Linked DNA regions of Homo sapiens: all the other regions are linked to region 1. Evidence: promoter capture Hi-C in 16 types of primary human blood cells and fetal thymus (Javierre and others, 2016). All regions are on one chromosome and are shown on one strand. The core of a region is centred on a gene start or on the middle of the fragment in contact, and the rest is flanking DNA. Distances in the headings are between cores, read along the strand shown.

Region 1 (3,025 bases), core at 261-2,760:
TCTGCTCTCAAAGATCTGTTTGGAAGAGTAAGTGTATTCAGTACTTTGTATGCCTTAATGTGTTTTCTATCTTAAACTAGTCTTCACAAGCTTTTACCACTCCAACTGAGATGTATACGTTAAGTTAGACTAATGTTTCAAAAACGGATACTTAAAAGCAACGTACCATAAAAATCTTCAGAAATTGTTACAAAGAAGAGTGAAAGAAAACAAGGTGTTTTACCATATGCATTTTTAAATTTAGCGTAGTGGATACTTTGTTTTAAAAATACATAATTTGTAGAATTACTGCCCAGTTTGTGTTTGAAACATAAATCCTGGGGTGGACGGCATTAAATTGAAAAAAAACGTGGGCATACAGTATATTTTAATTTTTCATACTGAATCGTACATTTGCACTGTGCCTTATTTCTACCGTGTTCTTCCTACTGTTGGACATATAAAAAGATTTTCCTTGGAACTGTGACTTGATTAGATGCTGCAGTATGCTGGATCCGGGTCGGTGGACCGCAGAGCGCTCGAGATGCGGAGAAGCAAAGCTGGCCGCTAGTGGGCGCTGTGGCTCCGTGGAAGTCACGGACGAGCGTCAGCACCGGCGCTCGACCGGGAAAGTAGCGAGGAGTTCCTGCCAGCTCTGCTCTGGGGTCTTGCAGACGCCGAGTGAGAAGCACATGCCTTGACTTTTCCATCTCACACCCTCTAAATCTCTGGTCACTTTGGGAAGCGCGCGTGTCTCCTAGAGGCTAGTGAGACGGTCCCCGCGTCGTGCCTGTGCCGGCGACACGCGGGGAAAGCTCCAGGGGCGCCACCTTCCCGGGGGGCCAGGAGGGAAGGGAGACGCCCGCAGAGAAGGCGGGAGGCGACGATGCTCAGGCCCTGATTAGAGCTGCAAATTCCGGCGCCGCGTCGCAGGAATCGTCTTGCAATTCCCGGCCCCACTGACTGAAACTGAGCCGTAGGCGATTGGTACCAAAATCAAGTGAGAAGCCCTCGCCGAGAGGCGTCGGGAGAAGCGCGCAGAAGCCGGGAGCTCTAAGGGTGCGCGCGGAGTGCAAGTCTTGCACGCGGGGCAGCGCCGCATCTGCGGAGAAGGGACGCCGAGCGGAGCCTGCTGCCTTCCGCACTGCTCGAGGGAAAGCCGCGCCCTCTGATTCCGCCGAGGGGGAAGGCGCCCCCGGGCGCGGAGACAGGTGGCCCGCTACTCGGCCGTCGCTGTTTCCACGTCTGCACCGCGCCCAGAAGGCCTCTCGCCGCCCCGGGGGCGCCCTGTGCACGCGCTGAGCGCTTCTCCTGCCCGGCTTCTGCTCCGCTCCCGCCGCCCGCGGGAGCCAGGGGCGGGGCTCACCTGTCAGCCCGAGCCCCGCCTCGCGGCACCCAATGTCGGGAGGGGATGGCGGACGGACGGACCGGCCGTCCAACCAGCGCGCGGCCGCGGAGCCGCGGGCCAATGGGCTTCGCGCGGCGGGGCGGGGCCCCGCGTTTATAGCGCTCTGACAGCGCGGCGGCCGCGCTGACTCTCCTCGGCGGGGACCGCGGCGCCGGCCGGAGCGAGGAGCTGCGCACGCAGCGGGTCCCGGCGCCCTCCCCGCACACAAAGGCCCGCGCGCGTCCGGAGCCCGCGGCGGGGACCGAGCTCCCTCTTTCCTGCCCTGGGGGCCGGGAGCCGCGCGGACTGAGAAGGCTCCTGCGCGCCCGGAGGCGCCCTACTCCGCTCCGTGCTCCGGGACATGGAACCGCGCCGACGCGGCGCCCGCGCGCTCGGGCCGCTGCCCGCTGCACTGGATCTATAGTCACAGGCGGCCCCGCTCGGGGCGCAGCGCCCGCCGCCCGCGCCGGTCGTCTCCGCTCCGGGTCTTTGTGTCCCAGCCCGCACCCGCCCCGCGCCCACCCGCCAGCCGCGGCCGGCCCGGCACCCTGGAGCCGCACGGGAGTCGGCCGTCCGAGCTGCGTCCGGCGCGGCGCCCCGGAACCCCGAGTCCGCCGCGCCGCCGCGCCCCGCGCGTGCGCTCCCGCCCCGCGCCCTGAGGGCCCCGGAGAGCGAGCGCACCTGGCCCGGCGACCGCTGGAGCTGCGCAGCGCGCCTCGGAGCTGCCTGCGGGCGCACGCCGTCTTCCCCGCCAGTCTGCCCCGGAGGATTGGGGGTCCCAGCCTGCGTCCCGTCAGTCCCTTCTTGGCCCGGAGTGCGCGGAGCTGGGAGTGGCTTCGCCATGGCTGTGAGAAGGGACTCCGTGTGGAAGTACTGCTGGGGTGTTTTGATGGTTTTATGCAGAACTGCGATTTCCAAATCGATAGTTTTAGAGCCTATCTATTGGAATTCCTCGAACTCCAAGTAAGTGGCGTCCGCGATCCCCCTATGTCCCCGCCCCGGGGTCCGCCGCGCCGTCCGGGCGGGAGGAGGGGTCAGTCCGCGGGGCCTCGGAGCCTGTTTCTGGAACCTCGGTTCCCCGTCCCCCACCCCCAACCCCCGCCCCATTTCACTAGGTGGAGACTCCTCGCTCGGCTTTCCAACCCGAGCCCCGCTGGAACGGACGGTCTCTCCGCCTTTCCTCCCCCGAACGCTCCCAGGCGCTAAAAGCTACTATCGGCTCGGGTGTCAAGTCCGGGAAGGTGTCCGATGGCGATACCTGACCCTCTCCTGTTTTCGAGGACGAAGGACATGGCCACAATCTAGGCTGGCCGGCACGCGGGGACTGGTGGGCTCTGGAGAGAGGCGGAGATGCTGCATTCGCGGGGAGCGCGGGCGGCGTGGTCCGGGGCCCGCGGGCGGGCGACCGGGGTGGCAGGACGCTGGCAGCGAAGCGCGTTCTGGAGAGGGGAGCCTGGAGTCGCTACGCTGCCCGCAGAGCCCTGGAGCCGGGGCGCCTTGGCACCGCGCCGCCAGCCCGAGGGTGCGCGGGGAGCTCGCCTGCTTCGCAGGAGAACTCGGGCGTCGAGCCCTTTCCTCCGCGCCGGGGAGACGGGCCTTAGGCTTCTCCCTGAGGGCCCGCCGCACCTCGGCCTCCCGCTTCGTTCATAAGCCGGTAGC
Region 2 (3,025 bases), core at 210-2,709, 2.8 Mb after region 1:
GCAACAGTGCAAGAAGCAACAGTGCAAGAAGCAGTTTCAGATTGCAAGGTAGGTGCTTTGCCATTAAATGCAATTGACTCTCCCTTAGGGAGATACCTTTTAAAGCTTGTATTTGTTAGAGAAGATAAATACATCTTCTGTTTATTTTCTATCATCTTCTGCATAATCTGGACTGTCTACATAATCTACATAAACTGGACTATCCATCCAGTAAGATATAGCTTTGTTCACCCCATCCCTTCCTTTGAGAATTACCATTTGTGGTATCACATTCCCATTCAGTCTTTGATAACTTTGGTCTTCTATCCTCAAATTTTACTAGGTTTAATTATAACAGAAAGTTAAAGATCTCACATGTTAACTGTCCTTTGCAACAACCTGTTAATAATAATAAAAACATACCGATTATATGTAACCTGAATGTTCCTGGTCTGTGGCCCTAGGACATTTCACAAGGGACTTTTGCCTATGTCAATTGGGAAAGGACCTCAGAATTGCCCAGTATCTTTCCTGTAGCCAAGAGAGTAAAATTCTGTGTTTGCTTTTGGAAGGCAGTTATCTTTATATTACACCTAAGTTATTCAGGGACTTGGGCAAAGAGTCTGAACTATTTTTAAAGTTTTGAGGGGTCATGTTTCTCTCCCTAGAGCACATGGAATCTTTGCAGCTGTCTCTAACTCCATTTTTGGTAATGATGTTGGGAGATTTTATTGTGCAATTAGAAATAAGAGCATACATCTGAACTTTGTCATACAAAGAAACAAATTCCAAGTAATGTAAGGTAAATGTTCTCAGTTTAAGGTTTAGGGTCATCAATCCTAATACCAATGTTACTATTATTACTGATGATGATGACAGTGATAAGAAGAGGAACAACAGGTTGTACTTTCTGTATAGTACTTACCATGTGCCACATAATGTTATATGCAGTATATTATTAAATAAATCATTTAATCTTCATCCAAAGCAACACTATGATATGAATACTACTTTTATCCCATTTAACAGGTGAAGAAAATGAAGCAAAAAGGAGATAAGTGACTTTGGCCAAGATAGAAACTGCCTCAACCATTTGGAGGCTCTGAAAGAATCTGATTTGGGAATGGCTAGCTGCTATCACAAATCCACTGGAAGAAAATGCTAAAGCAAAGAACAGATACTTGTTGAGTGAGAAGAAGAGGCTGAGTCTAGCAAGAGATGTATTGTTGAGCATCACAGGAAGTCATACTTCTGCGGCAAGGTCTCTAATACACATTTGCCATTTTCCATGGCAGGGCTTAGCAGCTTAGAGACCGAAATGGAAAACCGATCTATTTAGGTTGAATTAATCCAGGAAGCTGCTCAATACATAGTCCCAAAACTCAGGTTTCTACATAATACAGGTTAAGGATTGCCAAACAGAACATGAGTTAGTGCCAAAATTCATCAGGACCATACACCAGGGGTGCCTTATTTAAAAAGTAAATTTGTAATTAAAATTATTTGACTGGGTGGAACTAAGCACATTTACTTTTTTAAATTTCTGACTCTTTGTAATCTCAGAGTGGAAGTTGATTATACCACAAAGTTAGGCAAAGCATAAGCACTGTGATCTACCACGTATAGACTTCAGTATAATACACTTGTGAAGTGATATGGCTTGGCTGTGTCCCCACCCAAATCTCTTCTTGAACTGTAGTTCCCATAATCCCCATGTGTCATGGGAGGGACCCCATGAAAAATAATTGAATCATGGGGGTGGTTACTTCCATGTTATTCTCGTGATAGTGAGTGAGTTCTCACAAGATCTGATGGTTTTATAAGGGGCCGTTCCCTCTCTTTGTTCTGCACTTCTCCTTGCTGCTGCCATGTGTTTGCTTTCCCTTTTGCCATGATTGTAAGTTTCCTGATGCCTCTGCAGCCATACTGAACTGTGAGTCAATTAAACCTTTATAAATTACCCAGTTTCCCATGCATCTTTATCAGCAGTGTGAGAACAAACTAATATAGTAAATTGGTACCAGTAGAGTGGGGTGCTGCCATAAAGATACCCCTAGATGTGGAAGTGAGTTCGGAACTGGGTAACAGGCACAGGTTAGAACGCTTGGAGGGCTCAGAAAAAGACAGGAAAATGTGGGAAAGTTTGGAACTTCCCAGAGACTTGGAGGGCTCAGAAGACAGGAAGATGTGGGAAAGTTTGGAACTTCCTAGAGACTCGTTGAATGGCTTTGACCAAGATGCTGATGGTGACATGGACAATTAAGTACAGGCTGAGGTGGTCTCAGATAGAGATGAGAAACTTGTTGGGAACTGGAGTAAAGTTCCAAGGAGTAAAGATCACTCTTGCTATGCAAAGAGACTGGAAGCATTTTGCCTCTACCCTAGAGATCTATGGAACTTTGAACTTGAGAGAGATGATTTAGGGTATCTGGTGGAAGACATTTCTAAGTGGCAGTGTATTCAAAAGGAAGCAAGGCATAAAAGTTCAAAACATTTGCAGCCTGCCTATGCAATAAAAAAGAAAACCCAGTTTCCTGGGGAGAAATTCAAGCAGGATGCAGACATTTGTATAAATAATGAGGAGGCAAATGTTAATCACCAAGAAAATAGGGAAAATATCTCCAGGGCATGTCAGAGACCTTCATGGCAGCCCCTCCAATCACAATCCCAGAGGCCTAGGAGGAAAAAATGGTTTCCTGAGCTGGGTCCAGGGCTACCTGGCTCTGTGAGTCTCAGGACTTGGTGCCCTGAGTCCCAGCTGATACAATCATAACTAAAAGTGGCCAAGGTATGGCTCAGGCCATGGCTTCAGAGGGTGCAAGCCCCAAGCTTTGGCAGCTTTCACGTGCTGTTGGGCCTCAGGTCCACAGAAGACAAGAATTGTGGTCTGGGAATCTCTGACTTGATTTTGGAGGATTTATGGAAATGCCTGTATATCCAGGCAGAAGTTTGGTGCAGTAGTGGAGTTCTCACAGAGAACCTCTGCCAGGGCAGTTCAGAAGGGAAATGTGGGGTCACAGACCCCACACAGAGTACCCAATGGTGT
Region 3 (3,025 bases), core at 200-2,699, 2.7 Mb after region 1:
TTTGAGAGGATACAACACTGGAAGGCGTAAACAATGTAATAGTTGATGACAAAATTGAGATTCAGGTTATCTCAAAAGACTGGAATGCTGAGTGAATACCAAGAACATGGAATCTGATAAAAACTAATCTCAAGGCATGCTTTAGATTAAAAAAGAGAGAGAGAGAGAGAAAAAGAAATGTAAAGTAGTAAATACTGCAGACAGTAGTTTGTGGTTATCAGACCTGACTTGGCTGTAACTCAATAATCACCAACAGTGCCAAGAAGCTGCTAAAAAGAAAAGCATATGTTGCCTTAATAAAAGTTGAGTGTACATAAATGTGAAAAGCATAGCCTCTTCTTGGAATGTTAAGTATAAATATCTGAAATACTGGGCTTGATATGTCAACAGGAGATTGATGGATAAAAATAGAATTTTATATAAAAAACAACTGGACATATTAGATTGTTAACTTGGAAGAAAGACCATATTCAAAGAAGAAAACATAGTGACTAATTTCAAACATTTAAAGTCTTCCCTGTGGAAACAAAGGAATATCTTTGTTCTAACACTTCAAAGAACAGGGTTAAAAAATAGACTCACCACAAAGTAAATGCACAATTGACAATCGTGAATGAATTAAAAACCAAACAAAATATTTTGTCAGCTTTCTATCTATGAAACTAAGAAACAGGCTTCCTACTAAGGTAATGAATGTAATTCACAGAGAACATTCACGTATAAGTTTCATTCATGTTTCAAATTTCATTGATTTGATCAATGGGTTATTCTAATACCCTCCCTTATTTCTTCTGAGATTCTATTCACTTTTATAATCATTTCACTTTTTATTGAAAATTAGCTCTATATGAATTCATGTTTATTTCAATTTCTTGAAGAGTCTTAAGAAGATTGCTTAATATTGAGAAAATAATTAACTCTCCAATAAAAGATACTTAGGGATTAGTAATTTTACAACAGCTAAGGTCAATTAATTGGCAATCTAGTATTTTTATTATAAAACATGCACAGTCAAGAAAAAGAGATGTTCCCTTCTCACCCACCACATTTATGCCACTGCATGGGGTGATACATTTCATGTGGAAATCTCTTGATTTGGGTGTGTGTTTTGGGGTGGGGGTTTCAGCCAAAATGGCAAAAATTCTTAAAATCTTTGACCAGCATGGTTTTCTTCTCATGAGCCACAGTTGACCAACGCTTCATTTTCAATGTTTCTTTACAATTTCTCTTTTCTTCAAGGTCTAGTATTCTGTTATAACAAAGGTTATGAGGGCAAGCTTCCATTTCTCTCTTCGTTAAGAGAATAAATTCTCTCTACCTTTGGTAAAAATGCACACAGACAGCAGCAAAGGAGGAAGAGTTTAAAGCTAGAAAGATAAAGAGTATGTTTACACATTTGGCATAAAATCTTTTAAGATTCTTAAACTGTTAATACTTAAATATTCATAATGGATTACACTATTTCTGCAGTGATGCTAATTGGTTATTAAGATGGCTTAAACCATTGATTTGAAAGAGCTAAGTTTGAAGTTTTTTTGGACATCCTGAAACTGCCTAAGGTGAAAAGGGCTCAGGTGTACATAATTTATGAATTGATTATCATACTGTCCAGAAAAGCTTATACAGCCTCCAGGCTATTTGGGTGCTACCATATCAAGTGCACCTTATTTAAATGCATCAGCTTTCTATTTCCAGGTTCATGGTTTGCCATCCCGTATGAAATATTTTAAATTAAATAACAACAATGGAATAAGGAAAGTAAAATGGATAATAATAAGGGAACAAACAATAATACGCTGAACTTCCAGGTCAAAATAATTTTGCAAAGTCTTTCATATTGAAAAGAAAAAAATCTGTAAGTGATAAAAAATATTAATACCCTTGCTAAAATAAAAATAATGGTAAGCATAATAACTAATCATTAAACTTTTTCTCTATGAAAGTACTAATTAGCACAAAAAGATGATATATTTATCCTGAGAAATAAGCTGAAATAGATTAACAAAATTAAGAGTCAAAAATTTTGCCTTTGTGAAGACTCAGTAATTCAGCTTAAACTTAATTCCAGTTGTGGAACAGAAAAGAAACGTTTTTATTTTCTTTCCAGCTCCTTAATTTGCCACTGCTTATACATTTTTCTTAGAATCGCCTCAATAAAAAAATTGAACTATCATGGAAATATGAAATAACTGCCACATTGTATGCTTCTGCTCACTGAACTACGGGATTGAGATCAGAAAATGTTGCTAAAGTACACGAAAGTGGTACTAATAGTTTAAACTTCATTGACACGTCAATGCTGAGAATGTTTCTCTAAGAGCCTAAAACTGCCTGGAAACTGTATAAGGAAGAAAATGTGAGGCTCTATAAAGTCAGAATTTGCAATTTCTCTTACGGCATATGAATCAATAAATGCTGCAATGAGGGCCAACAGAATAATTTCGGCTTACCTTGCAACTCCTTGTTCCCCTACTTTTTATTTTTATTTATCATGGGGCTTAATTGATTTATAAAATTAACATACTTTGATAAACTGTGTCTAGAGCAATGTCCATTAACATTGGTAAAGCAACAACTTAGTTACATGGTTTAAGTGAGGCATTTTTTAAAAAGAGAGAAGCATATATTTATATATAAGATTGCATCAAAAATTTAATTACCAGTACTATTCATTAGTTACATTAAGGAAATCTCTTTGCAGCTGACATATATGGGTGTTACCCACTTTATTTGCATTCTTCTCTTCCTTGCTAAGAGAAGCGCCATTTTGTTAACAACGGCAACGTGTCCAGTCAATGTGACTCACCTCCTTCTGGACTTGCTTAAGGCTGGGAATAATTATGTGACACAGTTTTGGCCAGTGCGATGTCAGTGCAAGTTAAAACGGTGGAGTCACTAGTAGGCTATTTCTTCTTGAGAAAAACATTGTCAGCTACCGTACACCTTCATGTTTCTCCTCTTCTCTTTTTACTGCATGTTATGATGGCAGAAGCCTGGAGATGGCAGAAAACCTGACAGCCATGTG
Region 4 (3,025 bases), core at 316-2,815, 2.2 Mb after region 1:
TTTAAGTTTAGTGCAGCTTGAATTCAACTCAACTCATTTGAGGCAAGTATCAGGGCCTTCCCTTAGCAGAGCTTGGGCTTTAGTGCCCCAAAGGGTGTCTCCATTCTCCGGCACTCCAGGAGGCCCAATGGGCTTGCCCTTGTGTTTCTTGGCATGGTCACCTTTCGCCAAAGCAGCAAGTGGCCACTACACGTTTTCACTGTAAAACGTGGAGTGTCTGGAGGGGTTTTTACAGTTTATCTGTCCTGCCCTCAGATTTTCCTCACAGGAAGTCACTCCTACTTCTCTTCTTCTGCCACCAATATTTCTTTTTAACATTCAGTGAAGAGCTGTGGGCAAGAATTTGTAAGTGAATGCAATGCACACACCCTGTATGTGTGGGGCTGTCAGGATACTCAACCATCTGATCACCACACAGTCTGACTTTCAAACTTTATTAAGGTCCATCTGTTTTTGTCTCATTTGCATCTATTTTATTAAATAATTCACCTAACTTAGTTATTTAGCACCCACTCAGTTCCAAGAATTTTTATAGATGTGATTTTTCTTCTTTCAATAGTAACACATTTTTATATTTCATGTTTAAGTTTTATATTTTTCTAACCATATAGAGACACTAAATACCTATAACATATCCTGTTCTCAGTTTCTTACTTCACACTGTACCATATTGTTGTTAGCTACGCTTTTAGGTCAAATGTAATTGCCTTGCAGTGCATAATTGTATATCTTTGATTACATCTATATTTACTGATATGTAAACCAATCTTTGTGGTATGTTTTTGAATCACTTACATATCTGAAATAGTAATATATTTTCTCAAACATGAATTTTCCTTTAGCTGTGTATAAAACACAGGATAAAATTTATCATGCCTTGATACTTTAACAATATTTCTTAACTGTCTGCTGCATTCACTGGAGATAATGAAGCATATGTTATATATCTGATTCTTATTCCTTCGAAGGTACTAGAAAAATTAGCATAGACTAGGATTAAAAGTTAAGATTTTGAATTTTGGATATACCACTTACTATATATACATGTTATGTGAGGAAGCTATTTAAATAATTTGTGCCCTAGTTTTCATGCCCGTAACGTAATGATAATAATATTAGTTACCTCCTCAGATCATTGTAATGGTTAAATTATGTAGTTAAAAGAGATACTTAGGCCTTCAAATAGAAAAGGCTGAATAACTGTGAGCTGTTATTGTTCTTTCTCTGTAAAACTTTTAGCATTTTTTAATTTTCAAAATTCTGAATTGTACTGTAATGTATCTAAGTGTGACTATTATTTCTTACCTAATACTCCATAGGTCTCAGAGTGCAAATACACAAAGAAAAGAAAACATGCAGTACTGCTTCAATAATCAAGTGATGAACAGTCAGGAAACATACCAGAGTCTGAGAAGATAAAGATTGGTCACAATATGTGTGTGGTGACCCATTACAATAGCTGCCAGCTGTGATAACTTGGAAATCAGAACACACGCTGGCCAAGCCCATAGCTTCAAGATACGAGGTTAGATAACTATTAGTTGCACGTGATGGTAGTTTCTTGATGCAACAAGAGATAAAATTGAGCAAAAGTCAATTTGTTTGAGATAAGAAGTAAAGGCCAAAGAGAGAATGCAGAGATGTGGCACATTGTAAAACTGGAACCTGGCTGAATACCAGAGTGAAATGAATAAGGCTGAAAGTAAAAACTTTGAACAACAAGGTCGGGGAAGAATCATCACTTAAACAGGGAAGCTAAGCCCTGTGGCAAAGATCAGATTAATGGTTTCCTTAATCTGTTTTAATCTTAATCTTAATCACCAAATTGTTTTAAATGGTTTCAAAGTGGTCTCCTTTAGGTTTACAAGAGAGAAAACATAGGCGGAAGAAATTGGCCAACTTGAGATTTACACAGAGACAATGACTTTACCTGGGGTTACTGAAAACAGAAGGAAATAGCTCAAAAGGCCAATGGCATTTGTGGGGATTATATTCCCAAGGATACCTTGAGTCTGGCCCAAGTAATCCTATGATGGTGAAAAACCCAAAATCAGGCTAGGAAACTGCCATTCTCCAAGATGGCATTCTCCAAGATGGCATTCTCTTCTCCAAGATGGCATTCTCTTCTCCAAGATGGCATTCTTTCAGATGTGGTCTAGGAAGAAACTGAACAAGGAGGAAGTTCCCAGCATTTGGAAACAGAAGACAGGATGTATAGTGGAAGAATCTTTCAATCAATGAGACTTCCTTACAGAGAGCAGATTCAGAGACTTGTCAGGGAACTTCCTTCATTGCAAGGGCAGGGGGCCCTCCCCCTGCCTGCATAGCACATTTCATATGGCCTAGTGACTCTCGGGTATTATGCAGTATTACCTGAGGCTCCATCACTCTATAATTTGATTTTGGTGGTGGGAACAATGGGGAGACTGATGTGTCATCTAACTTTCATGTAGAACAGATGAGGAAGCTGATGATTCGTCTCATCCTCCTCAAGGCTGATCTGGATACAGACACTGGATGGGACTTTGCTTTGTCTTCCTTGGAAAGGATGGAAAATGTTCTCTGTACAAGTAAAAAGTAACTCATGCAGTTATTTTCTTGTAAGAGGGGCAGATGGAGTCTTGAATGAGCTAGTTGTTCCCAAAATCCATGCTCTTTCTATAGTATGGGAGTTTCATTGCAACATAGCTGTTTATCCAGAAACTAACTATCCTAAGCCTCTTGCAACTAGAAGTATCCACATCAGTACCTGTCAGAAGTGATGTGTGGGTATTTAAGAAGCTGATATGCCACATTCACTTACTCTTTCCCCTCGTCACACTACAGACACAGGATTCTTGGGCCATTCCTGATTAAAAAAAAAAAAAAAAAAAAGAGCTACAAAATGGAAGGAGACTGAATGCCTGAATCAACCCAGGGAGAAAAGCCTCTTATTCACTGCCCAAGATCACCTGCATTGAATGGTTATTTGAGTAAAAGTATGTTTCTCTTTTGTCACACAACTTAAATTTGGAGGTTGACTATA

The links. The method cuts DNA at HindIII sites, captures the fragments that hold promoters and counts their contacts. A CHiCAGO score of 5 or more calls a contact.
Region 2: a fragment that was not itself captured here is called in contact with the fragment with the promoter of EFNB2 in region 1 in 1 of 17 cell types (fetal thymus); the score reaches 7.3 in fetal thymus.
Region 3: a fragment that was not itself captured here is called in contact with the fragment with the promoter of EFNB2 in region 1 in 1 of 17 cell types (megakaryocytes); the score reaches 8.5 in megakaryocytes.
Region 4: a fragment that was not itself captured here is called in contact with the fragment with the promoter of EFNB2 in region 1 in 1 of 17 cell types (fetal thymus); the score reaches 9.5 in fetal thymus.

Annotation. Positions count from the first base shown.
Region 1 is chr13:106,534,147-106,537,171 of GRCh38, reverse strand. It overlaps EFNB2 (ephrin B2), which reads left to right and starts at 1,510. Exons shown (of 5, transcript NM_004093.4): 1 at 1,510-2,329. The coding sequence starts at 2,208. RefSeq lists an enhancer at 413-482 and a silencer at 1,063-1,722. The HindIII fragment of the contact is 2,990 bases long and covers 93-3,025 here.
Region 2 is chr13:103,768,313-103,771,337 of GRCh38, reverse strand. No RefSeq gene overlaps it. Among named protein-coding and RNA genes, the nearest start is that of LINC01309, 340 kb to the right of the region's middle. The HindIII fragment of the contact is 2,703 bases long and covers 108-2,810 here.
Region 3 is chr13:103,876,580-103,879,604 of GRCh38, reverse strand. No RefSeq gene overlaps it. Among named protein-coding and RNA genes, the nearest start is that of LINC01309, 450 kb to the right of the region's middle. The HindIII fragment of the contact is 340 bases long and covers 1,280-1,619 here.
Region 4 is chr13:104,310,463-104,313,487 of GRCh38, reverse strand. No RefSeq gene overlaps it. Among named protein-coding and RNA genes, the nearest start is that of LINC01309, 890 kb to the right of the region's middle. The HindIII fragment of the contact is 8,470 bases long and covers 1-3,025 here.